2 separate regions of the Homo sapiens genome follow, and region 1 is linked to region 2. The links are contacts of gene promoters, found by promoter capture Hi-C in human tissues and cell types (Jung and others, 2019). All regions are on one chromosome and are shown on one strand. The core of a region is centred on a gene start or on the middle of the fragment in contact, and the rest is flanking DNA. Distances in the headings are between cores, read along the strand shown. Region 1 overlaps LOC105371554 (a long non-coding RNA gene). Region 2 holds the start of PLD6 (phospholipase D family member 6).

The links. Contacts are between HindIII fragments. The study calls those that stand out against the background at their distance.
Region 1: a fragment that was not itself captured here is called in contact with the fragment with the promoter of PLD6 in region 2 in 1 of the 25 tissues and cell types used here (hippocampus).

What each region holds. Positions count from the first base shown.
Region 1 is chr17:16,541,009-16,546,581 of GRCh38, reverse strand. LOC105371554 (a long non-coding RNA gene) reads right to left here. Exons shown (of 4, transcript XR_007065637.1): 4 at 2,496-5,573. Among named protein-coding and RNA genes, the nearest start is that of ZNF287, 25 kb to the left of the region's middle. The HindIII fragment of the contact is 3,155 bases long and covers 1,481-4,635 here.
Region 2 is chr17:17,204,245-17,209,081 of GRCh38, reverse strand. It overlaps PLD6 (phospholipase D family member 6), which reads left to right and starts at 2,749. Exons shown (of 2, transcript NM_178836.4): 1 at 2,749-3,222. The coding sequence starts at 2,796. RefSeq lists silencers at 2,441-2,490, 2,531-2,780, 2,901-2,950, 2,971-3,090 and enhancers at 1,716-2,555, 3,611-3,730. The HindIII fragment of the contact is 14,315 bases long and covers 652-4,837 here.

The DNA.
Region 1 (5,573 bases), core at 1,809-4,308, 660 kb after region 2:
AAGGGAGAAGGAAGAAAGAAGCAGCTCACCTGTACAGAGACAGGAGAGGGGGCTCCAAAGCCGAAAGAGAAGGTCCCCACCTGCCACGGATACCAGCTAGGTATATATACAGAGGCTGGAGAAGGCAGTGTTTGATTTGCATAGGGCTCAGGGGATTGGTTTGACTAGGCATGTCTTCAAATAGCCAGAGGAAGAGCTGGCCCTCCCACCCATATGCAAATATGGGGCGCCACGATGTTCTACACACGTAGGGATAGGTGGGGGTGGCCATGTTGCCAGGAACATGTGGGGCAAGGGCAAGAAGGCTGTGGGAATTGACATGTTGGGTGGACCCAGTTTCTAATGGCCTGCATTTGCATATCAAAGGTTGATGGCCTGACTGTAAGAGTCGGGGCTTTACAAGAAACTTTTCTGGAGATGCTTTAAAAAACTAAAACTTCCCAAGGACCCCTTTGCCTCTCTGCCTAAAATAATTTCTTAATAACTCCTACCACATTCCTCCCTGTGGTGATATCACACTATCTGCTGTTAGGGGGTTTTGGGCGACGACTCTTTCTGGCTACTTCCTGCTGAAAAGGGGCGTCAAATGGGGAACAGCAGTGAGGGCTCCTCCTAGGGTCAACTTAAGGGTCCTCGGGAGAATGGCGTGTCCATATGTGGTTCAGTTTGCAGTACCATTTGGAGTTTGACTGCTTTGAGGCGAGAAGAAACAGTTCGAGTTATGGTACTGAGTATACAGGGTCCAAATATCAATACAAGACATATAAGCAGGAGAGGGCTTGATAAAGGGGCTGACCAATTCCATAAAGAAGATTGGAATTCATTAAAGAGGGATTGTAGCCATCCAGGGCTGGAGCCGGCATTTTCCCTGAGCCTGTTAATAATTTTGATTTCATTCTTAAGTACCTGTAGATTTTCCTCTACTAGAGGTGTTAATCATTACTAAACCCAATAAAAAGTGCTAGCAGACTCAGTGATAGTAAAACTTTCATGCTTCCTTTTTGTCAGTAACTATTATCCCTGCTATAAGGATAATAATTGAGCAAAATACAACAGCAATGGAAACTCTGTCCAATATGTCAGTTAGAAGGTGCTACCACGTATAACCCTCTTGCAAATAGCAGAGTGAGTATAGCAACTTCCACAAGTGTGATGTAGTAGATAACTTCCATGTAAAATTTTACTTGCCAAGATACAGAATTTTCCTTTGGTGGTCTATGAAGCCTTGGTTTTATTTTCCCAAACAAAAAAAAAAAAAAACCTGAGTTAATGGGCATCATACTCACTTTCATTAACTGGCAGAATTTGCAGGATAATTGCCCAGAACTAGCATATTGATTCAGATTTTTACATTACCCATCCCTTTTTATTTCTTCCAAACTGTAGGGGATTACCACTTGATTCACAGGAATAAGCAGAGTTAGTATAATATGTAGGCAAAAAGCTTAAAAACAATTGATGAGACTAGGATTTAATGAGAAATGTATAGTAAGTTTTGGAGAAATGTATGATAAGCTTTGGAGCACAGTTTTTCTCTCCAGTCCTCATTTTTGATAAAAACAAATTATGATAGGCCCGTGTGTGTTGTCTGTAGAATAAACTTTAGTCCTATACATGGCCTGATTGTTTGCATAAAGTGCAGCAAGAAAGGTTATTTCTACACAGGCCTTTTGGATTGGCTTCGATGAAACTGTTCTACAAGGAATCTCAGATAAGACCTTTTAAAGCCAAGCCCAGCCATGGGTTTGTATCCTCAAATACCTGTGAGTTGGGTGATCCTCTCCTCTTGAGGCCCCAAGATAAACTCGGAGCTCCCAGACCTATTAGAAAGTGACACTCTTTACTGACCACAGGTTAGGAATCTTGTGCAGGGACTGTGCAGACAAGGTATGAGGCCAGTTCTCCCCAAGGGGCTTTTATTTGCTCTGCATGTCAAGCTTGATTCCTTAAAAGGAAACACACCCTCAAGCCTTGGTTAAAATAACCAGTTTTTCCAATGTGTCCTGTTGACAAAGAAAAATGGATTCTTATTGCACTGATGCAAAGAGCTATATTGCCGTTAAGTTAAGAGTACAGCTAGTCTCCAAATTCTAGAGGAACCAGGCAGAGACAAATAAATATGCTCCAAATTTTGTTCACAGGAGTATACCTTACTCAATTATTAAAGGCCATAAATAGTTTAAAACTTTTCTTGACTCTGAAAAACAAAACAAGGATCAGCAATATTCCAAGCAAAGTTAAAAACTCTGCTTTAACTTTCTGAGTGCAGTCCATTTACTTAACTCTTGTTTTGCTTGATATTTATGAACATATTAGTTCTTTGTGAGTCCCATACATTCTCTCTCTATTCCAATGTTACAATCTTTAAAGCTATTAAAAACCTGCATTTGAGAACACCTGTTGAACTCCTTAATAGAGCTTGATTATAAACCATTTTTTGAAAAGGAACAAAGCAGGACAACAATTGTCTGTGAATGACAAAATTTTCAGGATAGTTAAAAACATGACTGACAAAGAAGTTTATTTATCTTCATGGTTTACAATAACTTTACCCTTAATTATGATTGATAGCATATACTTAGACATTAGAATCTTAGAAATCCCATACAATTCTGAAACATATATTAGTATTATTCACCAAACTATAACTTAAATAAGATTGGACATCATTTTGGCAATCTCATGTGACTAAACATGTCAAATAATCCTGTTTACCTCTTTTCTGAATGTTTCAGGGCCCCTCTAAACCATTCAAAAAGTTAGGTATCAGGAAGGACAATTTCCAGATTGCCATAAATTATTTTGCCAAAATGATGACTCAAAAGGCAAAATCCTTTCATTAGCCTTTATTATGAAATGAAAATCTTGTTCAAAGCAAAATTTTACCCTTGCATTAGTTTATTAATGTTAACCCCAATTTGTTTACACGAAACCTTATAGATTATTCCATCAAATCCTAACCAATTTGACCATGAGGTGAAATCTTTTTTTTTCTTTTTTTTTTGAGATGGAGTTTCATTCTTGTTGCACAGGCTAGAGTGCAAGGGCATGATCTCAGCTCACTGCAACCTCCGCCTCCCAGGTTCAAGCGATTCTCCTGCCTCAGCCTCCCAAGTAGCTGGGATTACAGGCATGTGCCACCACCCCTGGCTAATTTTGTATTTTTAGTAGAAACGGGGCTTCTCCATGTTTGTCAGCCTGGTCTCGAACTCCCGACCTCAGGTGATCTGCCCGCCTCGGCCTCCCAAAGTGCTGGGGTTACAGGTGTGAGCCACCGCACCCGGCCAAGGTGAAATCTTTACAAACCTTTTATAACCCTTTTACTAAGGGGCAGATTAGTGTCTTAAGACCTCCTTGCTATGCTTTTATTTTAATGCTTAATTTATGAAAAGACCATATAGATACTATGGGAGAGGACGGTGTAGTGCTTCTACCATGCATTGCATTGCAAGGCAGCCCAAAGCCAATTGGCTTATTTTGTAATTAGCCCATCCCTGATGGGAGTCTCATCTCCCAGTGCAGGGTGAGGATGTTTCCTTATCTTCCAGGTGGCCAAGAGCATCCCTGATTTATAACTACTATTAGCCATCCCTTACAGTGTATTTTCTACTTGATTATTACACACCAAAGCTTTCTTGTAAAAATGCGAAGTAATTTCTGATACCCCCAAAACTCAAAACCATCAGATAACACAATGCAAAACAGAACAGAGCCTTTGATTTTGAGAGGGAATTATTTGCTTTTAATTCCTGGGGTTTCATGAGGAAAACAGAGGGTTTTTTCCCAAAACGGGGTCTGTGGCGCCTCCTCTGTGTTTCCTGAGGAGTCCCATGCTACCAGAAGTTATCTTAGGGCCTTTTATACATGCATTAAGAGTAGTAAGACAAAAAATGGAGAAAAATAATTCAGTCGGCTGAGATGAGCCTTTTTCCAGAAAAACAAGATTCAAGAAAAGAAAAAACATAAAGGCCTTTTAATATACCTATAACTTGATTTTCCACTTTTAATTAAGCTGAGCACTCTTTAAGAAAATTCTTCTAAATCCTTTGTTACTTGACCTTAGCCATGCCAAGCAGTTAAGATTTTTGGCTTTTGAACTTTACAATAAGTAACCTCACAGGTAAAACTAAAGAGCTTTAATTAGGTTATGACTTAACCAGGAGTGTAAAAGGTATTTTTAAAGGAGTGACAGGCAGCTTTTTTTTTTTTTTTTTTTTTTTGCTGAGACAGAGTCTTGCTCTGTCACCCAGGCTGGAGTGCAGTAGCATGATCTTGGCTCACTGCAACCTCTGCCTCCTGGGTTCAAGCAATTCCTCTGCCTCAGCTTCCTGAGTAGCCAGGACTACAGGTGCATGCCACCACGCCTGGCTAATTTTTGTTTTTTTAGTAGAGACAGGGTTTCGTCATGTTGACTAGGCTGGTCTTGAACTCCTGACCTCGTGATCCACCCGGACAGGCAGCTTTTGAAACTGTCACTGCAAAATTGTGACTGAGACAGTGGAAGAGATCTCACCCAAACAACTCCATTTTGTTTCCAGTCCCCAAACTGTCCTTGCCCATCCCCGGGCATAGGCTGAATCAAGTTGGGGAGGAGCTTGGTTTACAGTTTATAGTCTAAAACAAAGAAGATAGCAGCTGCTTCTCAAGATATACTTCCCTTTTGCCTGGGGACCAGACCAAGAAACTAGCTACAGGATTAGAAACCATGGCCCAAGAGCCATGCAATTGGAGGCTACAAGATTTTGACCCTCCCTAAACGGCTGTTATGATCAGTGCTTAAGATGTTTTGTAAACCCTGCCCTTGATGGATCAGCTGACACAGCCCAGACTGACAAACTGGCTTATCTGATTTAGCACAAGAAGACAGCCACCATTGTAAAATGGCGGAGACAAAAACAAAGTATTGCCACATGGTTACAGATTATGTTCCCATGACATGAAACAAGATGGAGGCCTGTAGCCAAGTTTGCCACTGGATACTTTGCTGGGCTGGTTTGAACAGCAGGCTTATGGGTTTCTGGGCCTGCATCCTGACCTAAGATACCTTTTCTTTAACAGAACCACACAGAAAGACATACAAAGAAGAGCAGATTGTTTACAGCTTAAGACCAACCTCACAAATCCTTTTTCATTAACTATAAATTTAAAGAAAACATAAACAATGATCTTTATTATCCCTTTTGCCGGTTTCCACAGGAAGAGAGAAGCCAAAAGCCTGACTGGTAAGAAATTTTTACCCTTTTGCCAGCATATCAGGCTTCTGGGCTGGGTTTCCTTCCCCCTAGCTCAACTCTATGCCAAACATTTTAAGGTTTGGAAAATTAACCTTTTCCATGTTGGAAGAACATTATAAAAGAGAAGCCATTTTAAACTGCAAAACAAGGAAAAACACCACAGAAAGGAGTTCCAATTAGGGTTGTCAGGAGGTATTGCCTCTTTTCCTATTGGGAATGGTGTTTCCCCTTTGCCTTCCCTATTTTTTTCTTTTCCCTTTTGGCCTTCTATAGGAGACATTACTTATCTCCAAAATTTTCTTCTGCTTGCAGAGCTGCTTATTTTACCTACAGTAAGGG
Region 2 (4,837 bases), core at 1,500-3,999:
TCCTTCTTTATACCTCCACAACTCCAAGTCCCTCCTCTCATTATCGTTTTAGATGAGGAAAGTGAAGCTCAGAAGAGATGAATCAATTTGCCCTAGACCATGCAGCTAGGAAGCCTGGGAGCCAGCACTAAACTCAAGTGTTCTTTTTCTTTGTTAAGAATTTTATTCGCCAGGCACGGTGGCTCACACCTGTAATTCCAGCACTTTGGGAGGCCGAGGCAGGCTGATCACGAGGTCAGGCGATCGAGACCATCCTAGCTAACACGATGAAACCCCGTCTCTACTAAAAATACAAAAACAAAAATTTAGCCGATGTGGTGGTGTGCATTTGTAGTCCCAGCTACTTGGGAGGCTGAGGCAGGAGAATTGCTTGAACCCAGGAGGTGAAGGTTGCAGTGAGCCGAGATCGTGCCACTGCACTCCAGACTGGGCGACAGAGCGAGACTTCATCTCAAAAAAAAAAAAAAGAAGGCCGGGTGCGGTGGCTCACGCCTGTAATCCCAGCACTTTGGGAGGCCGAGGCAGGTGGATCACGAGGTCAGGAGTTCGAGACCAGCACGGCCAAGATGGTGAAACCCCATCTCTACTAAAAATACAAAAATTAGCCGGGTGTGGTGGTGGGCGCCTGTAATCCCAGCTGCTCGGGAGGCTGACGCAGAGACTCACTTGAACCCCGGAGGCAGAGGTTGCAGTGAGCCGAGATCGCACCACTGCACACCAGCCTGGGCGAAAGAACGAGGCTCCGTCTTAAAAAAAAAAAAAAGAATTTTATTGACATAATCACTGACATACATTTTTAGTTATTTACACCATACAATTTGACATATGTATATACCTGTGAAACCACCACAGTCAACCCGATAAGCACACATCCATCACTCCACTTCCTTGTGGCTTTGTTGGCCTCCAGGCTACACTGGTCTGCTTTCCCTCAATCTAGTTTGCATTTTCTAGAATTTTATGTAAATGGAATCATACAGTATGTACTCTTTTTGTCTGGCTTTTCCCACTCAATATTAATGAAATTCATCCACGTCGTAGCACATGTGAGTACTGTTTTTTTTTTTTTTTGGTGGGGGGGGGATAGGGTCTTGCTGTGTCACCCAGGCTGGAGTGCAATGGCATGATCTTGGCTCACTGCAACCTTAGTCTCCAGAGCTCAAGCGATTCTCCCACCTCAGCCTCCCGAGTAGCTGGGATCACAGGCACGTCAGCGCACTCAGCTAATTTTTGTATTTTTTGGTAGAGACAGTGTTTCACCATGTTGGCCAAGCTGGTTTCGAATTCCCGAACTCAAGCTGTCCTCCTGCCTCAGCCTCCCAAAGTTCTGGGATAACAGGCATGAACCACCGTGCCAGGCCACTTCATTCTATTTTATTGCTAAATAGCATTCCCTTGTACAGATATACAAAAGCTTATTTACCTGTTTACCTGCTGACGCCTTTTTGGGTTGTTCTAGGCACATACGCCTGCCAGGACACGTGCTTGTGTTAATGGATCCCGCCCTTTCTCCTAGGAGTGGGATAGCTGGATCATATGGAAGGTGCAAGTTTAATATTTTAATAAACTTTTAATTTAGAATAATTTGCTTTACAGAAAAGTTTCGAATATAGAACAGAGAGATCCATTTACCCCCACGCAGCTTCCTTTGTTAACCTTTTACATTCCTTTCATACATTTGTCAAAGCTAAGAAACTGACATTGGTACAATGCGATTAAGCTCCAGACTTTATTTGGCTCTCACCAGTTTTTCCGTGAATGTCTTCTTTCGGTTCCAGGATCCAGCCCAGACCACCACATTGCCCCGTTTCCCTATGCCCCCGGCCCAGTGCCCTCGGCTGCCTTAGTCTCTTCCTCTGTTTATGCTTAAAGCAGGGCAGGCCTTCCAACAACGCCGGCTGGAAAAAACCTCTTGGGCTAGGAAAAAACCTCTGGGCCGACACCGCCTCCAGTATGCTGGGTTCCAATGCTGCCTCCAGCTGTGTTGATTCCCTGATTATCTGTGTTCCCAGGTCATTCCCCAGCCCAGCCTAGCTGCTCCCGAGAAGACAGTGAAGGTGTGACCCCACATTTCCAGAGCAGCTCTGCTGTGCTCCATGCGAGGAAAGCCGGGGTTGCTGTGGCTTCTAGCGCGGAGAGCGGTCTCTGGCCTGGGCAGGTGACGGGTGTGCTAGGGCCCGTGGCCCGCGGGTGTGCAGGTGCTGCCTGGTGGCGCGGGCTTGGGGACGTGGCTTGGCACGTGGTGGGAGGTGGAACCTGGAGGGCGTGGCCGAGCGCCTGGCTGGAAGGAAAATGGGGGGCACAGCCTGGCGTTGGGGGGTGGAGGGTGTCTGTGGCAGGGGGCGTGGCCTGGCGCGTGGAGGGAGGCGTGGTCACCTGTTGAGGGTTGGGGGCGGGCTGATGGGAGGCGTGGGTTCAGCTTGGTGCGTGACAGTTGTGGGGGCATGGCGCGGCCTAGCGCGTGGCCCTCGGGGGCTGAGGGCGTGACCTTGCACGTGGCCGTTGGTGGGGCGTGACGGGGGCGTGGCCTGGCGTGTGGCCATGGGTGCTGGGCGTGGCCTGGCACGTGGCCTGGCACGTGGCCGTTGGCGCTGCGTGACGGGGGCGTGGCCTGGTGCGTGGCAATTGGCAGGACGTGATAGGGCGTGGCCTGGCGCGTGGCCATGGGGGGCTGGGCGTGGCCTGGCACATGGCCGCTGGCGGCGCGTGACGGGGGCGTGGCCTGGCGGTCTAGGGCTGGGGGCGCGCAGACTCCGCTGCGGCGGCGTGGCTGTGGGTCCCGGATTAGCGGCGGCATGGGACGGTTGAGTTGGCAGGTGGCGGCCGCGGCGGCTGTGGGCCTGGCTCTGACTCTGGAGGCGCTGCCTTGGGTGCTGCGCTGGCTGCGGTCCAGGCGGCGGCGGCCGCGGCGCGAGGCGCTGTTCTTCCCGTCTCAGGTGACCTGTACCGAGGCCCTGCTGCGGGCTCCGGGCGCGGAGCTGGCCGAGCTCCCCGAGGGCTGCCCGTGCGGCCTGCCCCACGGCGAGAGCGCGCTAAGCCGCCTGCTGCGTGCCCTGCTGGCCGCCCGCGCCAGCCTGGATCTCTGCCTGTTCGCCTTCTCCAGCCCGCAGCTGGGCCGCGCCGTGCAGTTGCTGCACCAGCGTGGGGTGCGAGTGCGGGTCGTCACCGACTGCGACTACATGGCCCTCAACGGCTCGCAAATCGGTCTGCTGCGCAAGGCAGGTAGGCCCGGCGGGGTCCAAGCGGAGAAGGCCGGCTTGGCCCACGCGGGGTCCTAGGCGCAAAGGTGGACACTTAGGGGAGGGGGTCTGGGGACGGGCTGAGGCCTCATTTACTTTCCTCGTGGCCTTGTGGGGTCGGGGTGGTGTAACGCGGAGAAAGCAGAGCCCCCACAGAAGGTCTAGCCGGCTGCGTGGGCATAAGCGAGCCGGACCCTCGGTGCCTCCGCGGTGGGGGCGGTTCTCTCAGTGAACTGTCCCGGCATGCTGGAAGCAGGTGGGCCTGCGTGTGCCGGGTTAGAGGCGGAGCAGATTCCCCTAGCAACTCCTCGGGCGCCGCCGGCGGAGTTTTCGTGACTGCTGCAGCCCGGGCCCGCCCTCCTACGCTGCCGGAGATCCCCGGACGGCCTCTGGTAACCTGGATCCTGGTGGCAGGGGAGCTGGACGCCAGGGTTGTGCTTGGACTTCCAGACTGAAGGGCTCTGGGGAGAGGCGGCCACCTGCTGCCCAGTGAATCTCAGGCCACTGGGCTCTGGGAGACCTGAACATGTTCTAGAAAGCAGCGCCAGGACATTCGGTTGTTTTCCCAGCTGCAAAAGGAGGGGAACACATATTTCTGGCGGGGGCGCCTCTCTCATGGGGTGGGGACAGAAGGGACCAGGAAATGTGAATAATTGGGATCCTTGTCCCACCTGAGGATTCTCAGTCCATCCTGGCCCAGTTCGGCGGCCCAGCCTGCTGTTGCCTTTTGTGTATCTGCACTCACAGACTCTTGGGCCTGTCTCTGTCTCCATCACTCAGGCACCCAGAAAGTCACGCCTGCACGTGCAACGGTTGGATCTGATAATACTGGTGGTCGCAGTGACCGAGAGATGTGTGGAGCCCTGGGAATTGTCCAGGCTGGGCAGTGGTCACCGCCGCGCTGTTCCTTCTGCACAGCCATAGCCTCTTGTTGACTTGGGCCTCAGAGCAGCCTCTCCAGAGTCAGCCAGGGTCCCTCCCTGCTCTGGGTGGTGTGGGGCATGTTGCACGCCATGTGGGAGCAGAGTGGGGCACGTGGTTTTCATATTGAGGATGTCTCCTTCTCTTTGGGGCAGCCACAAGAGCTGTCCTCCCATGTGTTGGTCATTTTAACGGGAGGTTTGGGGACCTCCAGGCATGCACAGTACAGTTCTGTTTGAGTTGCTTTTACAGTCGTAGAAGCTGAGGTTGGTGAAGACCCTTCAAGGGCCCCTAGACCAAGGTCCCATCGGATCCCCTCTGGGATGGCCTCCCAGCATCCTCGCTGACTTCGAGGCTGTCCAGTGGCATTCACTGTTCAAGGAATGTCCCCTCTGTGCCAGTATTTGTGAGGAGCTGGAACATCCTAGGGCACAAGGGCACAAGGCCAGGTTGCCACGGAGATGCCAACTAAGTCATGAATATTTCATTTAGGGCACTGAGAAGGGCCAAGAAAACTTCATAAAGCAGGGTAAGGAGGCAGTGGTGTGGGAGGAAGTGGCGTGGGCCAGGTCAGCTGCCCAGGGGCAGTGACACTCAGGGCAGGGACCTTGCTGACACCAGTGGACTGTTCGGAGGGAGAGGCATGCGGCTGGAAGGGGCAGCAGCACAGTCGCCCT